Linked DNA regions of Homo sapiens: regions 2, 3, 4 and 5 are each linked to region 1. Evidence: promoter capture Hi-C in human tissues and cell types (Jung and others, 2019). All regions are on one chromosome and are shown on one strand. Each heading gives the region's core, a stretch centred on a gene start or on the middle of the fragment in contact. The rest is flanking DNA. Distances are from core to core; before and after follow the strand shown. Region 1 holds the start of EDN1 (endothelin 1). Region 2 has its middle 110 kb from the start of HIVEP1. Region 3 has its middle 55 kb from the start of LINC02530. Region 4 has its middle 110 kb from the start of ADTRP. Region 5 has its middle 68 kb from the start of ADTRP.

Region 1 (2,700 bases), core at 51-2,550:
GTGTTCCATGCACCTTTTGCTTTCTTTATTAAGGCATGATGTCACCTGTACAGTAACTGCCCTGTGTGTACTTCAGGGGGGGATTTCAAGGTTAGATAGACAGGAAATTGTTTTGAAAATGTAAACACATTATTAAATGTGAAGTATTATCTGATTCCTTGTTCGAATGGCATTTCCTTCTCAGCACCACCTTCCTTGCATATTCACTTAACCTTGTACAAGAACACCTTTTTGCCCTAAATGAAGACACCCCCCCAAAAAAAAGAGTCCCAGAAAATATGTCCCTGCTTGTGCGGGGAATAAATAGAATATTCTGAGGTGCATTCCTCCTTCCTATGTTAGGCAACATTCCTTGACCCTCCTCGGCCCCCAAGCCAGGTTGCGTTTTTTTCTGCCATTTAGAAGGGTTTTCCTTTTTGTCCTAGTAAAACATCAGCCCCTGTAGCTCTTCATCTCCCCCTGGTGTTCTTCTCCCGCCATGTCTTAAGATTGGTGGCACCGACCAATCTTAAGATTTAAGTTCTGTGTGAAAAACACCTTTGCTTTTCAATCAGTTTATCAGCCTCCTCCGCAGGGGAAGTGTGGACACACAAAAGAACTTATCGGGGCTTCTCATCAGTGATAGGGAAAAGACTGGGCATGTGCCTAAACGAGCTCTGATGTTATTTTTAAGCTCCCTTTCTTGCCAATCCCTCACGGATCTTTCTCCGATAGATGCAAAGAACTTCAGCAAAAAAGACCCGCAGGAAGGGGCTTGAAGAGAAAAGTACGTTGATCTGCCAAAATAGTCTGACCCCCAGTAGTGGGGCAGTGACGAGGGAGAGCATTCCCTTGTTTGACTGAGACTAGAATCGGAGAGACATAAAAGGAAAATGAAGCGAGCAACAATTAAAAAAAATTCCCCGCACACAACAATACAATCTATTTAAACTGTGGCTCATACTTTTCATACCAATGGTATGACTTTTTTTCTGGAGTCCCCTCTTCTGATTCTTGAACTCCGGGGCTGGCAGCTTGCAAAGGGGAAGCGGACTCCAGCACTGCACGGGCAGGTTTAGCAAAGGTCTCTAATGGGTATTTTCTTTTTCTTAGCCCTGCCCCCGAATTGTCAGACGGCGGGCGTCTGCCTCTGAAGTTAGCAGTGATTTCCTTTCGGGCCTGGCCTTATCTCCGGCTGCACGTTGCCTGTTGGTGACTAATAACACAATAACATTGTCTGGGGCTGGAATAAAGTCGGAGCTGTTTACCCCCACTCTAATAGGGGTTCAATATAAAAAGCCGGCAGAGAGCTGTCCAAGTCAGACGCGCCTCTGCATCTGCGCCAGGCGAACGGGTCCTGCGCCTCCTGCAGTCCCAGCTCTCCACCGCCGCGTGCGCCTGCAGACGCTCCGCTCGCTGCCTTCTCTCCTGGCAGGCGCTGCCTTTTCTCCCCGTTAAAAGGGCACTTGGGCTGAAGGATCGCTTTGAGATCTGAGGAACCCGCAGCGCTTTGAGGGACCTGAAGCTGTTTTTCTTCGTTTTCCTTTGGGTTCAGTTTGAACGGGAGGTTTTTGATCCCTTTTTTTCAGAATGGATTATTTGCTCATGATTTTCTCTCTGCTGTTTGTGGCTTGCCAAGGAGCTCCAGAAACAGGTAGGCACGCTCGTTGACTTGTAAGTCTCGGAATTACAAGTTAGTGTGTTCTTATCCACCTTCATGCTTTTCTTGCTTCTATTTTTCCCCGTTCTTTTTATGACTGCAGCTTAGAGAGCAAGTGTCTGAGAATTATTGCTGAAAGCTACTTTAAGTCTTCTAGTGTAAAATGTAAAATTCCTCTATTGAATACAATTAGGTGCAATTGACTATAACATGACATTAAAATAACTTATCGTTTTATTATTATTATTCCATTATGTGTTTCCTTGGCTTTTAAAAAATGAGAAGAGTATGGACATATACAATTTAGTCAAATGTATGTTTGTAATATATGTGTTTATACAGGTACACAGGCCATATAGGAACTTAAATCTTATTTAAACACTATTTTAATAGTGTGTTAACGTGTAAAATATTTAAGCATTCCAGCTTGAAGCCAAGGAATTGTATCCAGTCGTTCAAGCAATGTATGTTCAGTAAAATCACCTGCAGAGCAAAAGTCTGTTGACTAACTACCGCCTCCCCCCCCCCCCGCCACCACCCCCCGCAGGCGGTTTCTGGGTGAAGCAGATGTTTTCTTTAAAATTTGTCATCATTGACTTTAGGTTTCTTTTGGCAGGTTTTTGGCACCCAAAACAGTGTGAGCTCTCTTTTCAGCTTTATTCACCTGTGCTGGGAGGGGAGCTAGGATAATTCTTGGCTGCCGAAGGATTTAGGCAGTGCGTGTGCATCTGCCCGGGTCCCCCCCGTTTTTAGGGTCAGTGCACTTTTTTTGTCTTTTCGTGACCCTGACTAAAGAGAAAGGATGTCAAGGGAATGAAAATCCTGGAATGTGTCTGATCATTTGAAATGTACAAAATTGGGCAGATAAGCTGCATGGCTAAATTGTTAGGAGGAAGAGGCAAGGCAGTAGTGGAGAAGGGGGAGGCAGTGGATCCCACACAAGCCTGATGCCCAGGGATTCGGAATTCAAAATCCCCCCAGCCTACCTTCAGTCCCCTGACCTGCTTCTCAGCCCCACCTTAGGTCACTGGTTTCTATGGAGTTACCCTCCTGAATTGAAT
Region 2 (2,700 bases), core at 193-2,692, 380 kb before region 1:
AGTGCATTAGTGTTCCTTTTCTCCACAACCTCGCTAGCATCAGTTATTTTTTGGCTTTTTAGTAATAGCCATTCTGACTGGTGTGAGATGGTATCTCATTATGATTTTGATTTGCATTTCTCTAATGATGAGTGATATTGAGCTTTTTTCATACGCTTGTTGCCTGCATGTATGTCTTCTATTGAAAAGTGTCTTTTCATGTCCTTTGCCCACTTTTTAATGGGGTTCTTTGTTTTTTTCTCATACATTTGTATAAGTTTCTTATAGATGTTGGGTATTAGACCTTTGTCAGATGTATAGCTTGCAAATATTTTATCCCATTCTAGTTCTTTGAAGAAAGTTATTGGTAGTTTGATAGCAATAGCACTGAATCTGTACATTGCTTTGAGCAGTATGGACATTTTAATGATATTGATTCTTCCTATCTATGAGCATCGGATGCTTTTCCATTTGTGTCTTCTCTGATTTCTTTGAGCAGTGTTTTGTAACTCTCATTGTAGACTTCTGATTTTAAACTAAAATCTTACTAAGTTTAGTTTAGTATTGGAAATTTTACAATATATAAGACTTAAATGCTCAGAAAGATTTTGTTGTTGTTGAGAAAATTGAAATACATGTCCTATAAAACTAAATTAAACGTGTCAAATTTATAAACAAAATTTTAAACGTTTGAAGGTTTAAACATTTTAGCAAAATCTGTAAATATGACCAAACTGAATTTAAAAACCCCTTAAAAATAACTGATAAAATTTACTAGACTTAAAAATAGAGTAAGATTTGTAAGCTAAATTGAAAGCCTATGAATTGCATTTTTTTAAAACTGCCTTCAAGTTTTTCAAAAAGCTCATATCAATAGAAAGAAGCTTCACTACCAAAATATTTTTCAGGGAATATTTTGGATCACAGAGGTAGGCTGAAATAGCGAGCTTTCCAACAGATTTTTTAACGTTCATAGAAAATATCAACCCAATCATCAGCTAGGCTATTTTCTAAAGTATATAGAACTACATGTAATAAGCAAAATATTCCAGGACTCTTTTGAGGAGTTTAACAATATAGCTAACTTCAAAATCACTGCTACTCAATGTTAGCAAAAGTTCAGGGAGAGAAGCACTATTTACCAAATGTTGCCTAAAGTATATGCAATTCATCCATTTCTCCAAGTAACCTAAACCTTCTACAGAATTAAGCCAGACCATCAGAAAGCTGGTCTCCATTCTCCTTGTCCTTCCCATTTAACACCACAGAACTTCTTTTTTTTGGCGGGGGGGGGGTGGGAATAGCCTTGTTTATTCTTTTTTTTTTATTATACTTTAAGTTCTAGGGTACATGTGCACAACGTGCAGGTTTGTTACATATGTATACATGTGCCATGTTGGTGTGCTGCACCCATTAACTCATCATTTACATTAGGTATATCTCCTAATGCTATCCCTCTCCCTTCCCCCAACCCCACGACAGGCCCCGGTGTGTGATGTTCCCCTTCCTGTGTCCAAGTGTTCTCATTGTTCAGTTCCCACCTATGAGTGAGAACATGTGGTGTTTGGTTTTTTGTCCTTGTGATAGTTTGCTGAGAATGATGGTTTCCAGCTTCATCCATGTCCCTACAAAGGACATGAACTCATCCTTTTTTAGGCTGCATAGTATTCCATGGAGTATATGTGCCACGTTTTCTTAATCCAGTCTATCATTGATGGACATTTGGGTTGGTTCCAAGTCTTTGCTATTGTGAATACTGCAGCAATAAACCTATGTGTGCATGTGTCTTTATAGCAGCATGATTTAAATCCTTTGGGTATACACCCAGTAATGGGATGGCTGGGTCAAATGGTATTTCTACTTCTAGATCCTTGAGGAATCGCCACACTGTCTTCCACAATGGTTGAACGAGTTTACCATCCCACCAACAGTGTAAAAGTGTTCCTATTTGTCCACATCCTCTCCAGCACCTGTTGTTTCCTGACTTTTTAATTATCTCCATTCTAACTGAACACCATAGAACTTCTTTGAATAGACTTTTTTTTCAAGACTGTGGCATCAACCTGCATGCATTGCGTTGTGGGAAACAAATCTATGAAATTTGATGTTGGACACACTCTTGATTAACTGAGGACTCCATTCACTGCATCACACAGGGTCTTCTTGCCAGAGACCCACAGGAGGAAATTTGCTGGGGACATAGTACCAGGGAAAGTTGTGTCTTGACCTTAATTATTTTATGAATCAGATAAATAATCATTACATCATCTTTCTCTGTATTGGCTGCTAGAAACCTCAGAGACACATCCATGGACTTCTACAAACTATGGTGATTCTCATGGCCCACATATTATAGATTGAGCTCTCCTTTGACTTGGCTTGACTTGACTTTTTCAACTTATTTTTATTTCACTAAATCATGTTTACTTATTTTTATCTTGTGTTATTTTGTATTAATAGGTATACATAAGTATATATGCTGTAAGTCTGTAAATCACTCTTAGAATGATTAATGGAACACAGTAACTCCTAACTGTATTGTTCATCAGCAAAAGCGAAATTTCAAAACCAAAGGGAAGCAATGCAGACAGAGATGAGACAGAGGACCCTACATGACAGCTGAAAGTAGGTTAAAAAAAAACCTATAAAAAAGATACACTGTTTTTAATTGTCTTCTGAAAAAAGTTTGGAAGGTGGGAGGTTGAGGGAGCAGGGAATATG
Region 3 (2,700 bases), core at 169-2,668, 350 kb after region 1:
TATGGTTAGTAGAAATAGATCATCATTCTAGGAAAAAATTTTACAAAGCATAGCAAGGAGACAGGGAGGGGAACATCACACACCAGGGCCTGTCGGGGGGTGGGGGGCTAGGGGAGGGATAGCATTATGAGAAATACCTGATGTAAATGACGGGTTGATGGGTGCAGCAAACCACCATGGCACGTGTATACCTATGTAACAAACCTGCATGTACTGCACATGTACCCCAGAACTTAAAGTATAATAAAAAAATGTAATACCCTTTGACTAGTAATATGGCTCTGGAAATTACTGGAAGCTTAGTCAAAGAATATATACGAAAAGTTTATTCTGGCATTCTTTATTCTAACAATAAATTATATGCCCCCAAATATCCAATAATGCCACATAAACTTTAATGTTCATATATATCAGAAGGAAAAGGAAATGAAAATATATCATATCTTCTGTATTTGTTTTCTCTGGGTATTGGGTCACAGTTTTTGTTTTTAATTTTACATTTTGTTTCTCATACTTTGTAAAAAAGATTGTATTACTTTTACAATCAGAAAAAAACATTTCAAAAATCAACTTGAGTCATAATTATCGTACAACAAAATGTATACAATCTAAGTGTAGAATTTAGTGACTTTTGACAAACGATATCCTGATGTAACAATCGTGTGACACCCATCACAATCGAGATATAGAATATTTGCAGTCAAATTTCATCACTTCAAACCCCATCAACACATGGGCAATATTCTGTCACTATAGACCAGTTTAGATTTTCCTAAAATTTAATGTAAATGAAATTATACAATATATAATCTTTTTTGCTTATCTTCTTTCCCTCAGCATAATGTTTTTGAGATTTAAACAGGATGATGCATAGGTTAATAGTTTGTTCCTTTTTATTGTTGAGAAGTGTTGATTTTAACATAAGTAACAATTTGTTTATCTAATCAACTGATGATGGACATTTGGGTTGTTTCCTGTTTAGAGTAATTACAAATAAAGCTTCTAATTACATTCGTGTAAAATTCTTCCTGTAAACTTATGCTTTAGTTTGTCTTAGGTACATACAGTGGAGTAAAATTTCTGGCTAGCACTGTAAAACAATATTTAAATTTATAACAAAACATCAAATTCTGTTCCAATGTAATTATACCAATTTACCTTCCCAACAGCAATGCATGAAAGTTTCAGATGTTCCAGATTCTCACCAACACTTGGTATTGTCAGCCTTTTTAATTTTAGCTATCCTGGTGGTGAGGAATGGGATCTCTTAGTTTTTATTTCCCTGGTGACTAATGATGTTGAGCTACTTTCATGTGCTTATTGACCATCTGTATACACTTTTTTTGGCGAAGAATCTGCTAAAATCTTTTCCCTATTTGTACCTGGTATGTTCAAAAACTTTTTATTGAGTTGTAAGAGTACACTGTAAGTTCTAAAGTCCTTTGTCAGATATATGTATTGTGAATTTTTTCCTAGCATATGACTTGACTTCTCATTTTTCTTAACAGTTTCTTTTGAAGAGCATTTTTGAATTTTAATGTCATGTAATTTATTAATTTTTTCTTTTATAGTTTATGTTTTTGGTATCATATTTAAGAAATATCTTCTTCCTACAAGGGAAGAAGATATACTTCTATGCTTTCTGTTTAAAGTACCATACTTTCAGCTTTTATGTTTATGTGAATGTCTGTTTCTGTTCATTTTTATATATATATTGTGAGGTGATTTGAAGATTCAATTTTTTATGTGGATATCTAACTGTTCTGGTGCCATTTGTTGAAAAGACAAGTTTTTCACCAGTTAATTATCCTGAAATGTTTGTTAAAAGTCAACCACCTGGCTGGGTGCAGTGGCTCATGCCTGTAATCCCAGCATTTTGGGAGGCCAAGGGGGGTGGATCATGAGGTCAGGAGATCGAGACCATTCTGGCCAACGTGGTGAAACTCTGTCTCTACTAAAAAAAAAATACAAAAATTAGCTGGGCATGGTGGTGCATGCCTGTAATCCCAACTACTTGGGAGGCTGAGGCAGGAGAATGGCATGAACCCAGGAGTCAGAGGTTGCAGTGAGCCGAGACTGCGCCACTGCACTCCAGCCTGGCGACAGAGCGAGACTCCATTAAAAAAAAAAAAAATCAACCACCTGTAAATGTAACAGTCCACTTCTTTTTTTTCTTTCTTTCTTTTTTTGTATTTCTACATTGCATTGAACAAGAGCTTTTCATTTTTTTAAATTTTACTTCAAGTTCTGGGGCACATGTGCAGAATGTGCCAGTTTGTTACATAGGTATACATATGCCACGGTGGTTTGCTGCACCCATCAACCTGTCATTTACATTAGGTATTTCTCCTATTGCTATCCCATCCCCCACCCCCCACCCCCTGACAAGCCCTGGTGTGTGATGTTCCCCTACCTGTGTCCATGTGTTCTCATTGTTCAACTCCCACTTATGAGTAAGAACATGCCATTTTTGGTTTTCTGTTCTTGTGTTAGTTTGCTGAGAATGATGGTTTCCAGCTTCATCCATGTCCCTGCAAAGGACATGAACTCATCCTTTTTCATGGCTGCATAGTATTCTGTGATGTTTACATGCCACATTTTCTTTATCCAATCTATGATTGATGGGCATTTGGGTTGGTTCCAAGTCTTTGCTATTGTGAACAGCGCTGCAATAAACATACGTATGCATGTGTCTTTATA
Region 4 (2,700 bases), core at 77-2,576, 400 kb before region 1:
TGGAATTACTCAAACATGCCAATAACATACGCCTGTGGAAATCAGGGGATTCCCCATCCTCTTAATACTGCAAAGCCAACCTCACACAACCCCCAGTTGTACACTCTTTTCCCAAGTGCAACACCTATATAGCCCTGGATGGTGCGCAGTGCCCTCCCATTGCAGGCTACGGGTATATGTAACTGATAAACTGCTGTCAAGCTCATCTGTACAGCACTGAGTGTCTTAAGTTTGGCCATCCCAAGAACCATAGAGTAGAAATTTCTCCCTTGCCAATGGGATAAATAGAAGACAATAAAAACATGAAATTATTCACAGCTGTGTTCTCTAACCACAAGGGAATCAACCAAAAATGAATAATAGGAAGACCAAAACAATCTCCTAACACCAAAAAATTAAGCAACAAACTTCTAAATAATCTGTGGATAAAAGAGAAAATCTGAAGGGAAGTAAAAAAAGACTTGATGAGTAACCAAAGATGAAAAATAATGAGAGAGACAAAGGGGTTAAATGTGATTTGAAGTTTAGATGCTGAGAGAAGACAAGCTAGCCATCATAGATCATCTTAAGAAATCAATGCAGGCTGGGCACAGTGGCTAATGCCTATAATCTCAGCCCTTTGGGAGGCCAAGGCAGGCGGATCACCGGAGGTCAGGAGTTCGAGACCAGCCTGGCCAACATGGCGAAACCACGTCTCTACTAAAAATACAAAAATTAGCCGGGCATGTTGGTGGGTGCCTGTAATCCCAGCCACTCGGGAGGCTGAGGCAGGAGAATTGCTGGAACCTGAGAGGCAGAGGTTGCAGTGAGCTGAGATCGTGCTACTGCACTCCAGTCTGGGCAACAGAGCGAGATTCCGTATCAAAAAAAAAAAAAAAAAAAAAAAAAAATTCAATGCAGATTTGTGAATTTCATCAACTAGTTAGCCGACTTGGAAAGTGGAAGCAGGTACAGAGTTCTGAGAGAAAAGATTGATAGGTGGAAGATGGAAAGAGAAAGCTGAAGCTAAACTACGGAATACCGACCAGAAACAGACCCTAGTGAGTTGCCTTCACAGGACACAGCAATAAGCCCATGGAAGAAGGTGGAAAAGAGCTGAGGTTGCGGTTTGACACTAAAACATTCCTTCCTTTTCTCTGATGTCCAGTATCCCATTGTTTAGCTCTTTTTGTTTGGAATTCTGACAAGGAACGTGGGCAACTTAAGTTTAATAATATGATGGAAGTTCTCTGCAAAGTGGTCCACTCTGGGCAAACACAAGTTATTCTATTATCTTTCCTTTACCTTCATGGGAGCTCAGGTCCTCTTACCTGTTCAGAACTTACAGATATTTGGGAGATTATTTTGCAATTATAACTACAAAGATAGGAGAAGAGGCCAAAAAAAAAAACAAACTCCACAGTTTAATTTTTTTCATTATTTTATAATTTAGCACTTCACCCAATCTATTCAACTTGACTTTTTATATTCTCGTCAAGTAACCTTTGCTCAAGCCAGACCAAATATTTTCCTGTTCATGAGTAAGCCAAGCTCATTTCTATTCCCAAATTTCTGAAAGTTAATTAGTTTTATTCTCTGACAGGGTAGCAATGACTAACTTTTAAAAGTCAGAGCAGTATAATTGAAATAGCACTGATTATATGTAACACATATTACATAATACATATATAATTATACGTATAATTATCTCTTTAAATATACACAAACCTATATCTAGATATAGGCACTGGTTTATATATTTATATTTATATGTTTATAACTGAAAGGATAATTATAGAATGTGATTAATATTCATCTGTGGGTTATGGCCTACATGTTAATGCCAAAGGCAAGAAAGAATTCAGTCACCAATTGCTACACACATAGCATTCAAATCAATTAGTGCAAGAATGCCCATGGGCGTGTGCACACACACATACAAGCATACATAATTCATTTCAATTCTCTTTCCAGTTTTCTTATAAACATCTCCATCTGCAAAAAATTCTAAAGATTTTTACAACGTATGACACACCAGTTAGGAAATCATAATGTTCATTATTCATAACATCATGCACCATGACCGAATTATGATCTAAGTGCTCTGGGGTAATGGAGAAAGATTCATAGCCTCAAGGAGGAATATTTTATGGCTAATTTTCTATTATCCTTTCTATGCCATTCTAGGAATAGGTAAAATAATCTCACCCATTTTTCTGTAACTTTTCTGGTGTCTAATTGTGGTGAAGAACATCAAAAATTATTGCAGAGAAAATCACTCTCCACTAATTCTCCATTTTTATGTTTATTTTTTACATTTTATTTTTCCTTTATAACATATACAAAGCAATTTAACACAAAAACACAACTTAAAACATCTAAGCTGTGGAAAGGAGAATGTGTGTGGTGTAGTCAATAGGTAAATACTGTATTTATAAATATGCATGTACACAGTCTCCATTTATCACAACATTACTTCTATTTAATTCACTTTTTGGTGACTACCTATTATTCTCAAATATTTTGGAAGTGCTTTGATAGCTTAAAAGAAGAAAGTGAAGGAGAGTGAAGGAAGGCATAACTTATAAAAACATCCCATATATTAAAAATGCTGATGATACAATTCATTTAAAATGTGTAATACAAAATTGGATAAATATAAAGAAATTGTAAGATCACAGTTATGCAAATCTAGGCATGTAATAAATAGCAAGAACACTA
Region 5 (2,700 bases), core at 150-2,649, 440 kb before region 1:
CATCTGAAACTTTCTCTTATGAACTTCAGAGAGCTGCCCTGACAGGTAAGTCCTTTGGTAACATTTTCAGAATGTGTAGTGAGACTAAACTTTGCAGTACAGGTTGAGTATTCCTCATCTGAAATGCTTAGAACCAGACATATTTTGGATTTTGATTTTTTTTCAGATTTGGGAATATTTCCATATATGTAGTGAGATATCTTGGGGATAGGACCCAAGCAAAATTCACTTATGCTTTAGATAGCCTGAAGGTAATTTTATACAATATGTTTAATAATTTTGTGCATAAAACAAAGCTTTGACTGCATTTTGACTTTGATCTGTCACATGAGGTCAGGTGTGGAATTTTCCACTTGTGGCATCATTTTGGGGCTCAAACAGTTTCAGATTTGGGAGCATTTTGGATTTTGAATTTGGGAATTGGAGATGATCAACTGTAATGAAAATACCTTCTGGAGCCCAGCATAGGTGATTTGAAATGGTGACTACGCTTTAGTGGACGGAGGTAGTCACATGGGATGTGGGCGTTGCATGCACTTATGATGGAGTTCATGAAGACATATGTGCCTGCAATGGCACAATCCCATCTTTAAGGAAACGGCCCTAAATCCTTTGATCTTCCTCAGTAGACCCTGTGACTTGCACAGGCTGCTTAGTTTGGGAGGTAAAATCAGTTATCATGTTTACTCTGGACATAGCAGATTGGAATTGGAAAAGAACTGCTATCCTACCCAATGCCACTGGGCTAGAGAGAGATCTACCCCCTATAGGCAGGCATTGACTAGCCAGTGGAAGTGCTTGGCAATGAGGTCATCTTATCTGATTATTTCTTTTGGAAAGTGTAAGTGCTAGGTGAACACAAAAAGGTCTAGTCACTTGAGCTTGAGTTCATTTCCTAAGGGACACAGATTTTTTTCTTGTAGAATCAAAAATATGTCACAGATTCCAGGACAAGAAGGTCTAAAATCCAAGGTGATGGTGAGATGAAAAACAATCCTCCTACCCCACATTTCCAAAAACACTTAAAATCAATTTTCATTTTACAGTTATATGATCTGTAGGTGCATTGTCCTCACAACCCCAAAGAATTTGACTGGCAGGACCAGTTCTGTTGAGAAAGAACCAAGGAATGCAATCCTTTCACAGGTTCAGGCTATGTGGGCACAGATCTGGGGCAGCCTCCCGGAAAACCTGCAGCGACCCGTAGCTCTGCAGAGAGTAAAGCAAGCTTGAAGCACTAAATGACCAATGTAGATGGTATTGTCCTATTATTACATATATACTTGAAAAACAAACTGTGTTGTATTGCAACCCTTTATCAATGTGGCTCACGACTTCTGGCATCTGTCCCCCAGGTCTGTGGCTGTCCTTGTCAAAGAATCTTTGGTTAGGCAATGAGCCACCAACAGAACAGAAAATAAGATTTGAGGATCCTGGCTCCAACCTTTCACTCTTAATTTCAGACTACAGCCTCTAATACCAAACCACATACAGCAAGAACATTCTAGGTTAACATTCGTTGGGTTGAGGGAGAGTAGTAGAGGTACATTCCTCCCTCCCCAAACGTAGATCATTCCTCGTATTGGAGAGTCACTCCTATTCTGTTTCAGTTGCCCTAGGGAGGAAAAATGTAAAGTGTGGAAACTCAGTGGCTGCTATCTGTTCTGCAGATAGTACATAGAAATGCTGTTACAAGCACAGTGTTTCCTGATCCTACAAGATTCCTCCAATGTCCCAGAGGGAGAGCGTTTTAAAACACATGACCACCTGTAAGGTCCCTGGCACCATATTCCAGGGCTCCATCTGCACTTTGCATCTTGGCCCTCCAGGGCCCTGATGGTAGATCTCCCCCAGTGGCACGGCCAACTCACAGCTACTACATCCTTAGTGACTTACAACATCCCTTCAGGTAGGTGGGCATCTTCTTTCAGATGGCATTCTTTCTTTTTAGGAACAGTTCCTGGAAGCCACCCTTGCATTCTAATTAGGGGTGATGGCTCATTTGTTAGCTCTCAGAATACAATCAATGACAATGACAGGTGATATGGTTTGACTGTGTCCCCACCCAAATCTTATCTTGAATTATAGCTCCCATAATCCCCACATGTCATGGGAGGGACCCAGTGGGAGATAATTGAATCATGGGGGAAGGTTTTCCCATGCTGTTCTCATGATAGTGAATAAGTCTCACAAGACTCAATGGTCATATAAAGGGGAGATTCCCTGTACATGCTGTCTTGCCTGCTGCCATGTAGGACGTGCCTCTGCTCCTCCTTTGCCTTCTGCCATGATTGTGAGGCCTCCCCAGCCATGTGGAACTGTAAGTCCATTAAACCTCTTTTTCTTTATAAATTACCCAGTCTTGGGTATTTCTTCATAGCCGTATGAAAATGGACTGATACAACAGGCCAGACTGTGGTACATGAATCAACTTATATGTCACCCCATCTGCTCATGGCTCAGGGGCTTCTATGAAGAGCTTTTCCAGGCACAGAATCTATGTGACCCCTCTCAGAGAAACATGCCCCTCTCTCTGTTGGAGCTCTTTTTCTTTATTTTATTATTTTATTTTCTCTTACTACAAGACATAATTGGTGCACTGCTTCCAAGGAGCAGTTGTGAAAAGGGACTTTCTGGAATTCACCTGAAATAGACCAGACCACAAAGGGGTGGTTTGAGTTTAGAGACGAGCAAGAAGAA

The links. The method cuts DNA at HindIII sites, captures the fragments that hold promoters and counts their contacts. A contact is called where the count stands out against the background at its distance.
Region 2: a contact is called between a fragment that was not itself captured here and the fragment with the promoter of EDN1 in region 1, in 1 of the 25 tissues and cell types used here (hippocampus).
Region 3: a contact is called between a fragment that was not itself captured here and the fragment with the promoter of EDN1 in region 1, in 1 of the 25 tissues and cell types used here (H1 embryonic stem cells).
Region 4: a contact is called between a fragment that was not itself captured here and the fragment with the promoter of EDN1 in region 1, in 1 of the 25 tissues and cell types used here (H1 embryonic stem cells).
Region 5: a contact is called between a fragment that was not itself captured here and the fragment with the promoter of EDN1 in region 1, in 1 of the 25 tissues and cell types used here (stomach).

Annotation. Positions count from the first base shown.
Region 1 is chr6:12,289,061-12,291,760 of GRCh38, forward strand. It overlaps EDN1 (endothelin 1), which reads left to right and starts at 1,301. Exons shown (of 5, transcript NM_001955.5): 1 at 1,301-1,633. The coding sequence starts at 1,570. RefSeq lists enhancers at 1,054-1,153, 1,164-1,233. The HindIII fragment of the contact is 6,997 bases long and covers 1-2,700 here.
Region 2 is chr6:11,905,399-11,908,098 of GRCh38, forward strand. No RefSeq gene overlaps it. Among named protein-coding and RNA genes, the nearest start is that of HIVEP1, 110 kb to the right of the region's middle. The HindIII fragment of the contact is 8,680 bases long and covers 1-2,700 here.
Region 3 is chr6:12,639,419-12,642,118 of GRCh38, forward strand. No RefSeq gene overlaps it. Among named protein-coding and RNA genes, the nearest start is that of LINC02530, 55 kb to the left of the region's middle. The HindIII fragment of the contact is 3,441 bases long and covers 1-2,700 here.
Region 4 is chr6:11,887,823-11,890,522 of GRCh38, forward strand. No RefSeq gene overlaps it. Among named protein-coding and RNA genes, the nearest start is that of ADTRP, 110 kb to the left of the region's middle. The HindIII fragment of the contact is 7,288 bases long and covers 1-2,700 here.
Region 5 is chr6:11,845,028-11,847,727 of GRCh38, forward strand. No RefSeq gene overlaps it. Among named protein-coding and RNA genes, the nearest start is that of ADTRP, 68 kb to the left of the region's middle. The HindIII fragment of the contact is 6,547 bases long and covers 1-2,700 here.